Regions from separate parts of the Homo sapiens genome. Here regions 1 and 3 are each linked to region 2. Evidence: promoter capture Hi-C in human tissues and cell types (Jung and others, 2019). All regions are on one chromosome and are shown on one strand. Each heading gives the region's core, a stretch centred on a gene start or on the middle of the fragment in contact. The rest is flanking DNA. Distances are from core to core; before and after follow the strand shown.

The links. Contacts are between HindIII fragments. The study calls those that stand out against the background at their distance.
Region 1: a contact is called between a fragment that was not itself captured here and the fragment with the promoter of SNUPN in region 2, in 1 of the 25 tissues and cell types used here (mesenchymal stem cells).
Region 3: a contact is called between a fragment that was not itself captured here and the fragment with the promoter of SNUPN in region 2, in 2 of the 25 tissues and cell types used here (IMR-90 fibroblasts and adrenal gland).

Annotation. Positions count from the first base shown.
Region 1 is chr15:75,895,202-75,898,252 of GRCh38, forward strand. UBE2Q2 (ubiquitin conjugating enzyme E2 Q2) reads left to right here. Exons shown (of 13, transcript NM_173469.4): 12 at 1,794-1,860. It also overlaps the pseudogene RN7SL510P. Among named protein-coding and RNA genes, the nearest start is that of FBXO22, 7.2 kb to the right of the region's middle. The HindIII fragment of the contact is 4,691 bases long and covers 1-3,051 here.
Region 2 is chr15:75,624,252-75,627,105 of GRCh38, forward strand. It overlaps SNUPN (snurportin 1), which reads right to left and starts at 1,474. Exons shown (of 9, transcript NM_005701.4): 1 at 1,415-1,474. RefSeq lists a silencer at 953-1,002 and an enhancer at 1,653-1,842. The HindIII fragment of the contact is 13,243 bases long and covers 1-2,854 here.
Region 3 is chr15:75,919,893-75,922,956 of GRCh38, forward strand. The region is part of intron 5 of FBXO22 (F-box protein 22); the gene reads left to right. Among named protein-coding and RNA genes, the nearest start is that of FBXO22, 18 kb to the left of the region's middle. The HindIII fragment of the contact is 3,498 bases long and covers 1-3,064 here.

The DNA.
Region 1 (3,051 bases), core at 115-2,614, 270 kb after region 2:
AGATGGAGTTTTGTTCTTGTTGCCCAGGCTGGAGTGCAATGGTACGATCTCGGGCTCACTGCAAACTCTGCCTCCTGGGTTCAAGCGATTCTCCTGCCTCAGCCTCCCAAGTAGCTGAGATTACAGGTGTGCTCCACCACGCCTGGCTAATTTGGTATTTTTGTAGAGACGGGGTTTCTCCGTGTTGGTCAGGCTGGTCTTGAACTCCCAGCCTCAGGTGATCTACCTGCCTCAGCCTCTAAAAGTACTGGGATTACAGGTGTGAGCCACCGTGCCTGGCCGGCTTTACTATTTTAAAGAGCTCTTAGATGTTGAAAAAGACTACCCTGTAGAAAAATAGGAAAAGTCCTTACATAAATTTAACATGTTAAAAAAAAATAGGAAAAGGGGGTATAAAAAGTCTGTTTACAGAAATAGAAATAAATGGCTCATGAACATAATGGAGACATGCTCAGTCTCACTCAATAGAAATACAAATCAAAACTATACTGGGAGTCCATCTAGTATATTGTCAGAAATCTACAAATGTTTGAAGTACTGCATTGGTGAGGCTGCATCGAGGCACTCTTACAGATGGCTGGTGGGCAGACACATTTGTGCAGTTATGTAGAGGGCAATTTAGCAATATCTCAGAATTACACATATATATCTTTTGACACAGCAGCTCTACTCTAGGACATTTTTACCAGTACTCAGCAGATATACGTACAAGGTTGCTCTTGGCAACATTATAACAGCAAAATATTGAGAAACCCTGATGTCCACCAATAGGGGACTGATTAAATATTTGAATATCCATATAATAGAAATATTTCAGTGTTTAAAACAGGTATGTTCTATACTGATAAGGAACATTCTCCAAGATATGCTAGACAAGAAAAGGGGCAGACCAGTGTCTGTAGCATGCAACTGTTAGTGAAGGAAAGCCAGGGACAGTGGCTAATAACAGTGGGCTGTACATGAATAATCTTAAAGAGGGACATACAAGAAATTAGTAATAGTGGTTAACTTGTGTGGAGGAAGGGGGATGAACGGGAGGAAACTGGGTGTTCAGGGCACCAAGTAGGAGGGAGAGTTTTCACTTAGGATGTAGACATTTTTGAGTCTTGTGCTGTGTGAATTTATTATGCAAAAATTTCTGCCACATAATATAGTGGATAGATGGGTACCACTATGGAGAGTGCTCCTGGTATATTAATTCGAAGCGAAGATATAGGTTGGTTGTACTTATGGTGACAAAATTAATCCTAGATTTGGCTCCTTAAAAAGATTGTATATTTTTATCAAAAGAGGGCTCCTTTAGTAAGCATGGTGACAATTATGGGCATTCTTTAGATTTCTAACTTAAAATGTCATTCATATGTATAGTTGTGGAAGCTTAATATTTTCTTATCTGAAAGTAATATTTTGTAGTTTTTTTAAAAATAGAAATTGTGTGAAGACAGTTTGAGTTTTATTAACATCCAGATATAATCCTTTAACTTGATTCAGCAATATGGAGACGGACTCTAGAACCAGAAAGCTTTGTACTTGTCCAATGGTAGGAAGACTTATAAAAATGAACTGTGAGGCTTGTTGAGTTTTATTGGGGTACAATTTTGGTTTTGTTATTTTTATAAAATTGTAGAGAATAATGAAACTGAGAAATGAGGCTATTAAGTTAAAATTGTTTTTGAAATGGAGATAGTCAGTTTCCCATGTTCTTTTAAGCACAGTGTGATGCATTCATAAATTTATTGTAATAATTTTCACCTAATTACACTTTTGATTTAAAATGTGTAATTCTCTTTCAGAATCAATATAATCTAGCAAGAGCCCAACAATCCTATAATTCCATTGTACAGATACATGAGAAAAATGGTATGTTTAATTCAATAAGTGTTTATTGCCATTTAAGAAGTTTTAGATAATGTATTAATACTTACCATTTTATTTTTCTGTTTTTGCTTTAGTTTCTTAAAATGCTGTTACCATGGTGAAAGAAACTTGTGCTGCATACAAAATCTTTATTTATTTATTTATTTATTTTATTTTATTTTATTTTATTTGTTTTTTGAGACGGAGTCTCGCTCTGTCACCCCAGCTGGAGTGCAGTGGCACTATCTCAGCTCACTGCCAGCTCCGCCTCCCAGGTTCATGCCATTCTCCTGCCTCAGCCTCCCGAGTAGCTGGGACTACAGGTGCCTTTTTTGTATTTTTAGTAGAGACCGGGTTTCCCTGTGTTAGCCAGGATGGTCTCGATCTCCTGACTTTGTGATCCGCCCGCCTCGGCCTCCCAAAGTACTGGGATTACAGGTGTAAGCCACTGCACCACAAAACCTTAACATTGTACTTCAGTCAAAATTTTTGTATCCTATACACTTGGCCTAGGTATCTCAGAGTCAGAATCAAGATTTCTTTTTTTTTTTTTTTAGTAGATTAATGAATGACTCACTTTACTTACTTGAAATATTAGGAACTGAGTTAAAGGCAACTCCTTACAGATGGAGTTCTTGTTGTTATAACTGGAGTGCAGTGGTTGTTTACAGGCGTGATCATAGTGGACTGCAGCCTCAAGTTCCTGGGCTGATGTGATCCTCCTGCCTCAGTCTCCTCAGTAGCTTGGACTGTAGGCACAAGCCACCATGCCTGTAAAGTATTCTTTACTTTGCTAGAAATGTGTCAGTTTGTGACTTAAGATTTGTGTTTTGTGCTCATTTATTTTAATGACAAAGCAAACTTGTCACTCTTTCAGTGATTGCTTACTTATGGAAATAGTATTCAAAACAAAATTTTCAAGCAGAAGAGAGAAACGATAAAATTTGAGGACAAGGCCAGGTTTTCATAATAATAATTTCTAGCACACAAAATTAGATCCAAAGAAACCTGTGTACTACTTTGATACTTTATAGATCTTGGCATATTCATACTATTCTAAAGTTTCATACTAAACAGTACTTAGTCTAATTTGCCTTTTTATAGAGAGCTTAGGTTTTTGCGGAACCTGGGACACAGATTTCTTCTTATCTTTGTTTTTATTTCTTAACCATTACAACTGGCATTCAAAAAATA
Region 2 (2,854 bases), core at 224-2,723:
TGTTTTCAGTTCATCACCAAAGTAATGACCAAATCCAAAGCACCTTTATTAGGCCTATCATGCACTATCTTGGTGTGGGCTCCCGCTCTGCCAAGAACCACACAACCTTTGAAACTGATGTCCTGGGCCTGGCGCGGTGGCTCACGCCTGTAATCCCAGCACTTTGGGAGGTTGAAGCGGGCAGATCACCTGAGGTTAGGAGATCGAGACCATCCTGGCTAACACAGTGAAACCCCGTCTCTACTAAAAAAAAAAAAAAAAATACAAAAAAATTAGCCAGGCATGGTGACGGGCGCCTGTAGTCCCAGATGCTCGGGAGGCTGAGGCAGGAGAATGGCTTGAACCCGTAAGGCGGAGCTTGCAGTGAGTCGAGATCGTGCCACTGCACTCCAGCCTGGACTTCGTCTCAAAAAGAAAAAAAAAAGAAAAACTGATGTCCTGGATACTGGGGCGGTTCCTTTACCTTCCTTCAAGGCTGTTCTTGGCGGGTTCCTGCTGTTTCGTTTTGTTTTTTCTTTGTTGTTGTTGTTTTTTTTTTGAGACAGAGTTTCGCTCTTGTTGCCCAGGCTGGAGTGCAGTGGCATGATCTCGGCTCACTGCAACCTCCATCTCCCGGATTCAAGCGATTCTCCTGCCTCAGCCTCCCGAGTAGCTGGGATTACAGGCACGCGCCACAACGCCCGGCTAATTTTTTTTGTATTTTTAGTACAGATGGGGTTTCACCATGTTGGTCAGGCTGGTCTCAAACTCCTGACCTCAGGTGATCCGCCCACCTCGGCCTCCCAAAGTGCTGGGATTACAGGCGTGAGCCACTGCGCCCCGCCGGGCTCCTGCTGTTTCAACCCATTCCTTGGATGGTGCTGCCTCCAAGTGTTCGGACCTTAGCCCCAGGTGGTCTTAGCACCAGTAACCCCCGCTCCAACTCCCTAAAGTCCGACCCGCCCCAGGCCCCGCCCACGCTCCACCCTCCCTCCCTGTCTAGCCCCCTCCCCCATCCCCTTCCCCCTCCTTCGCGTCTCCCCATCCGGCGCCCCCGCCTCGCGTCCCCTGGGTCCGCATCCTGGCAGCCTCCGCGTTTCCCTACCCCTGCTACCGGGCTCCAGCCCCGGGGACGCTATCTGCTTCACTCGGCCGTGCGCGCCGCCACCGCCCCGCACTGCCTTTTTCTAGGCATGGGGTCATCTAGGCCATGCATGATTCGCCCCTGCCCCACAGAAGTCCCTGAGGGGTCCTGGCCGGACAGCACGGAATAGAAGAACGGAAACTCTCCCAAAAGGAGTCCCAGGCCTGGCTCTATCCCTCCAGATGACGTCCCAGGAGGCCAGAGTGCAGGGCCGGCCAGAGGGAGTCACAGTCCGGCACCGAGAGGCAACTCGGCAGCTGGCGGGGCCCGGGCTCGAACCCAGGGACTCACCCAAACCGAGGTGACCGTCGCACGCGCCGCCGCCACCGGGGCCGACGAATCACCTGCCCTGGGAAGCTAGGTCCGCCCTCCCCCCGCCCCCAGCTGCTGCCTCACCGCTGGGCCCACAGGCCTCGCGCCCTGAGTTTCCGGCTCCTCCCTCCTTTGCGAACGCTGGGAGTTCCGTTGCCTACAGGCCGTTATTTCCGCCTTCAACGGCTGGGGCATTTCCCATCGGCTAGGGAGGGGGTCTTCTTGCATTTGCTTTGCACTGTCCGGGACTCTTCCTGCTAGATGACTTGACCAGGCCGAGGCCTCCCTCCTGAACACAAGCTCTTCGGGGCTCCTTTCGCCAATGGGAGGAGGCTGATCTTGTGGCCGGGCATTCAACGCCCTGGGCCCTGCCGCCTCCCGCAGATCTTCCCGGGCCTTAGGGCTTCACCTGGAGTCCCCTTCCCCTCTTGGGCCCGTGCTCTTAAACGGGCAGTGCCAATTGCCTGGATTACTCCAACTAACCCCTCACACCCAAGTTTCAGACACAGACCTTCGCTCCCCCACTTGCCCTTAACAAAAGCAGATACATACCTCGATTACTGCCTGTTTGCTGCTTTTGCGAGCTTCTTTCCCACTCGGCTGCGGGCTGAGCAATGGTAGGGACCTGGCTTGATTCCTATTTAAGTAGCCAGAGTCCAGCACAAGGGATGGCGCTCAGTAGACCCTGCGTGAAGGAATGATTAAATTGGTGCAAAAGACTAGGGTAAGCGGCAGAGATTTAGGAGATTAAGTCCTGCCAGGGTGTAGCCTCTGCAGGGCGGGAAGGCTGAGATTACAATTTTAAAACTGAATATTTATTGAATGCTTACATTCAGCCAATCCCTGCTTCACACCCATCATCTCATTTAATTTTTTTCCTTTTTTTTCTTTTTTAAGCCAGTAGATATTAACTCTTAATCATGACATGAGGAAGTAGACACACTGAAGCTCAGAGAGGTTAAGTAATTTGGCCAAAGTAACACAGCTTTCAAGGAAAATGTTTGAATTTGCTGAAAGTTTGATGTATAGGGAAGTTGACTACCGATGTATGACAGAAGCAAAGTATCCACCTTTGGCACATTTTGCGTCCACGGAATGCTAAAATTTGGACTTGTGTATTTTATGCACATTACACCATACATTCAGACTAAAAAGAATAGGAAATTAGGCTGATGAAAGGCTATTACTAGACTGGTAAAAAGGGTTCTGGGGCCCTGGAAGGCCAATTTTTCTGGACGTGAGATTTTTTTTTATTTTTTTGAGATGGAGTCTCGCTCTGTCGCCCAGGCTCTGGAGTGCAGTGGCGCAATCTCCGCTCACTGCAAGCTCCGCCTCCCGGGTTCACGCCATTCTCCTGCCTCAGCCTACTGAGTAGCTGGGACTACAGGCGCCTGCCACCATGCCCGGCTAATTTTTTTG
Region 3 (3,064 bases), core at 479-2,978, 300 kb after region 2:
CACTTCTAATCTTCACCACAGCTTTGCCAGACAGAATTCTTTATGGAATATTTTTGATGAGGAAACTGAACTTTAATGGCAGTAGAGAGTTAAGGCTCTTAGGGTATGTAAATAGCAGAGTTAGCAGAAATGTTAAAGCTATTCTAAATTAAGGATGCCAAACTTCCTTTGGGAAAAGGTCAGATAGTGCCCTTAAAACTGACCCATTGTTAAGTGTAAAGGCAAAATGAATTTTAGGAGCAAATGTGGCTATGTGCTGAGCTTATGTGATTTTGTAATAACATAATGAGACTTGATATTGGTAGGCTAGCTGGAGCGAACAAAGTTCAGCAAACTAGGTCTTTTTCAGAGTTGGTCAGGTGGTTAGCAAATAGTAGGTCTGAAACTCAAAGGAATGGCTGTGGTCAGACATGTTGGTTTGAGAACCATTTTGTGTGTTGCCTGGCAGTCTGCCTGTAAAAGCATCAAGTGTCATTGAAGGCCTTGGAGTAAGCCAGTCCAGGGCAACATAGCCCAGATTCTGGGAAGATTTATGGCAGCAAATTTAGTACAAGGAAGGAAGAAGATGATCAATGTGTTGATGTTGACGAGATGACTATCTATATTCAATTGGCTCATAATGTAGAACTCCTACATTAATTTTATTCAGGCTGGTATGGTGGCTCATGCCTGTAATTTCAGTACTTTGGGAAGCTGAGGCGGGAGGATCGCTTGAGCCCAGGAGTTCGAGACCAGCCTGGACAATATAGTGAGACCTCACCTCTACAAAAAAACTAAAAAACTAGCCAAGCATGGTGGCACGCACCTGTAGTCCCAGCTACTTAGGAGGCTGAGGTGGGAGGATTGCTTGAGCCCAAGAGGCGGAGGTTGCCGTGAGCTGAAGTCACGCCACTCTACTGCAGCCTGGGTGACAGAGTGAGACCCTGTCTCAAAAATAAATAAATAAATAAAAATTTATTCAGCATGTTAAAGGTGACATAACTGGATGTAGATTCTGTCTCAGTGACATTCCAGAAAAGGTATGAAGAATACATATACAGTCATATGTTGCTTAATGACGGGGATGAGTTCTGAGAAATGCATCTTTAGGCAATGTTGTTGTTGTGTGAATGTCATAGTACTTACACAGACCTAGATGTTACAGCCTACTATATGTGTAGGCTATACAGTGTAGCCTATTGCCCCTAGACTACAAACATGGACAGCATGTTACTGTACTGAATACTGTAGGCAGTTGTAACACAATGGTAAGTATTGGTGTATCTGAACATATCTAAACATTAAAAAGGTACAGTAAAAACATGGTATGAAAGACAGTATACCTCTATAGGGCACTTAACATGAATGGGACTTGCAAGACTAGAAGTTGGTGTGGGGTGAGTCAGTGAGTGGTGAGTGAATGTGAAGGCCTAGCCCTGTATACTACTATATAGTTTATAAACACTGTATGCTTAAGCTACATTAAATTAATTGAAACATTTTTGTTTGGCCGGGCACAGTGGCTCATGCCTGTAATCCCAGCAGTTTGGGAGGTCCGAGGTAGGTGGATCCCTTGCGATCAGGAATTTGAGACAAGCCTGGTCAACATGGTGAAACCCCATCTCTACTAAAAATACAAAAATTAGCTGGGCATAGTGGTGTGCGCCTGTAGTCCCAGCTACTGTAGGCTGAGGCAGGAGAATCGCTTGAACCTGGGAGGCAGAGGTTGTAGTAAGCCAAGATTACACCACTGCACTCCAGCCTGGGCGACAGCGAGACTCTATCTCAAAAAAATAAAATAAAATTGTTCTTTAATAATAAATTAACTTTAGCTAGACAAAAAAAATTTCCATTTATATCCTTATTCTGTAAGCTTTTCTCCACCTTTAATTTTTTTTTTAACTTTTTAAGCTTTTTGTTAAAAACTAAAACACAGTCACACACATTAGCCTAGGCCTATACAGAGTCAAGATAATATCACTGTCTTCCACCTCCACATCTCGTCCCACTGCAAGGTCTTCAGGGCAGTAATACATGTGGAGCTGTCATTTCCTATGACAACAGTGCCTCCTTCTGGAATACGTCCTGAAGGACCTGCCTGAGGCTGTTTTACAGTTAACTTTTTTTTTTTTTTAATAAGTAGGAGGGGTAACCTCTAAAATTACAATTAAAAGTATAGGATAGTAAATCATAAGCCAGTAACATAGTCATTCATTGTCATTGCCAAGTATGCATTGTACGTGATTGTATGTGCTATACTTTTATACGACTGGCACTGCAATAGGCTTGTTTACAACAGCATCACCACAGACATTTGAGTAATGCGTTGTGCTACACATTAGGCAGTAGGAATTTTGTAGCTCTGTTAATCTTCTGGCACCACTGTTGCATATGCTTACTGTGCGTGTCACCACGCCTGGCTGTCCTTGACCAAAGTGTTATGTGGTGCTTGACTGCATAATCATAACCCAAGTGAGTATGTGAGGTGTTCTGTGAGAGCAGAATGGGTAGATTGCTGTAGGGGTTCTGCCAGTGGGAGGGATCAAGGAGGCTTCCAGAAGCAGGTGGTATTTAAGCCCTTGAAGGATGGGAAGCATATGAGAGATATGGATGAGTAATATCACTGGCTGAAGGAACATAGAAACACAGGCACAGAGCCAGGAAATCCCAGAGCATGTTGGAGAAATAGTAATCATTTTGCAAGCAAAGGTTATGTGCAGGGAAGTCATGGGAACAAAGGGTGGGGCGCATTCAGGCCAGGCTAAAGAGTCTGGGCTTAGCTCCTGTACACAGAAAATGGTAGCTGTTACTCAGATGTCATCGAGCAGAGGTGAATGTGGCCCTCCTGTGTGGGGAGACACTGGAAGCGGGAGACCACTTTAGAGTCCAGGCAAGAAATAACACTAGGGCATGAGGACTAGGGAATGAATTGGAGGAAATGAACAAATGATTAGATGTGAAAGAGAAGGGAAGCCTCAGTAATTACTTTTGAGTTTTGATCCTAGGAGACAAGGGTGATGGTGGTGCAGAGACCAGAAATAGGAACACTGGGACAGGAGGAGCGGGATTGGGAGAAGAAATTGGG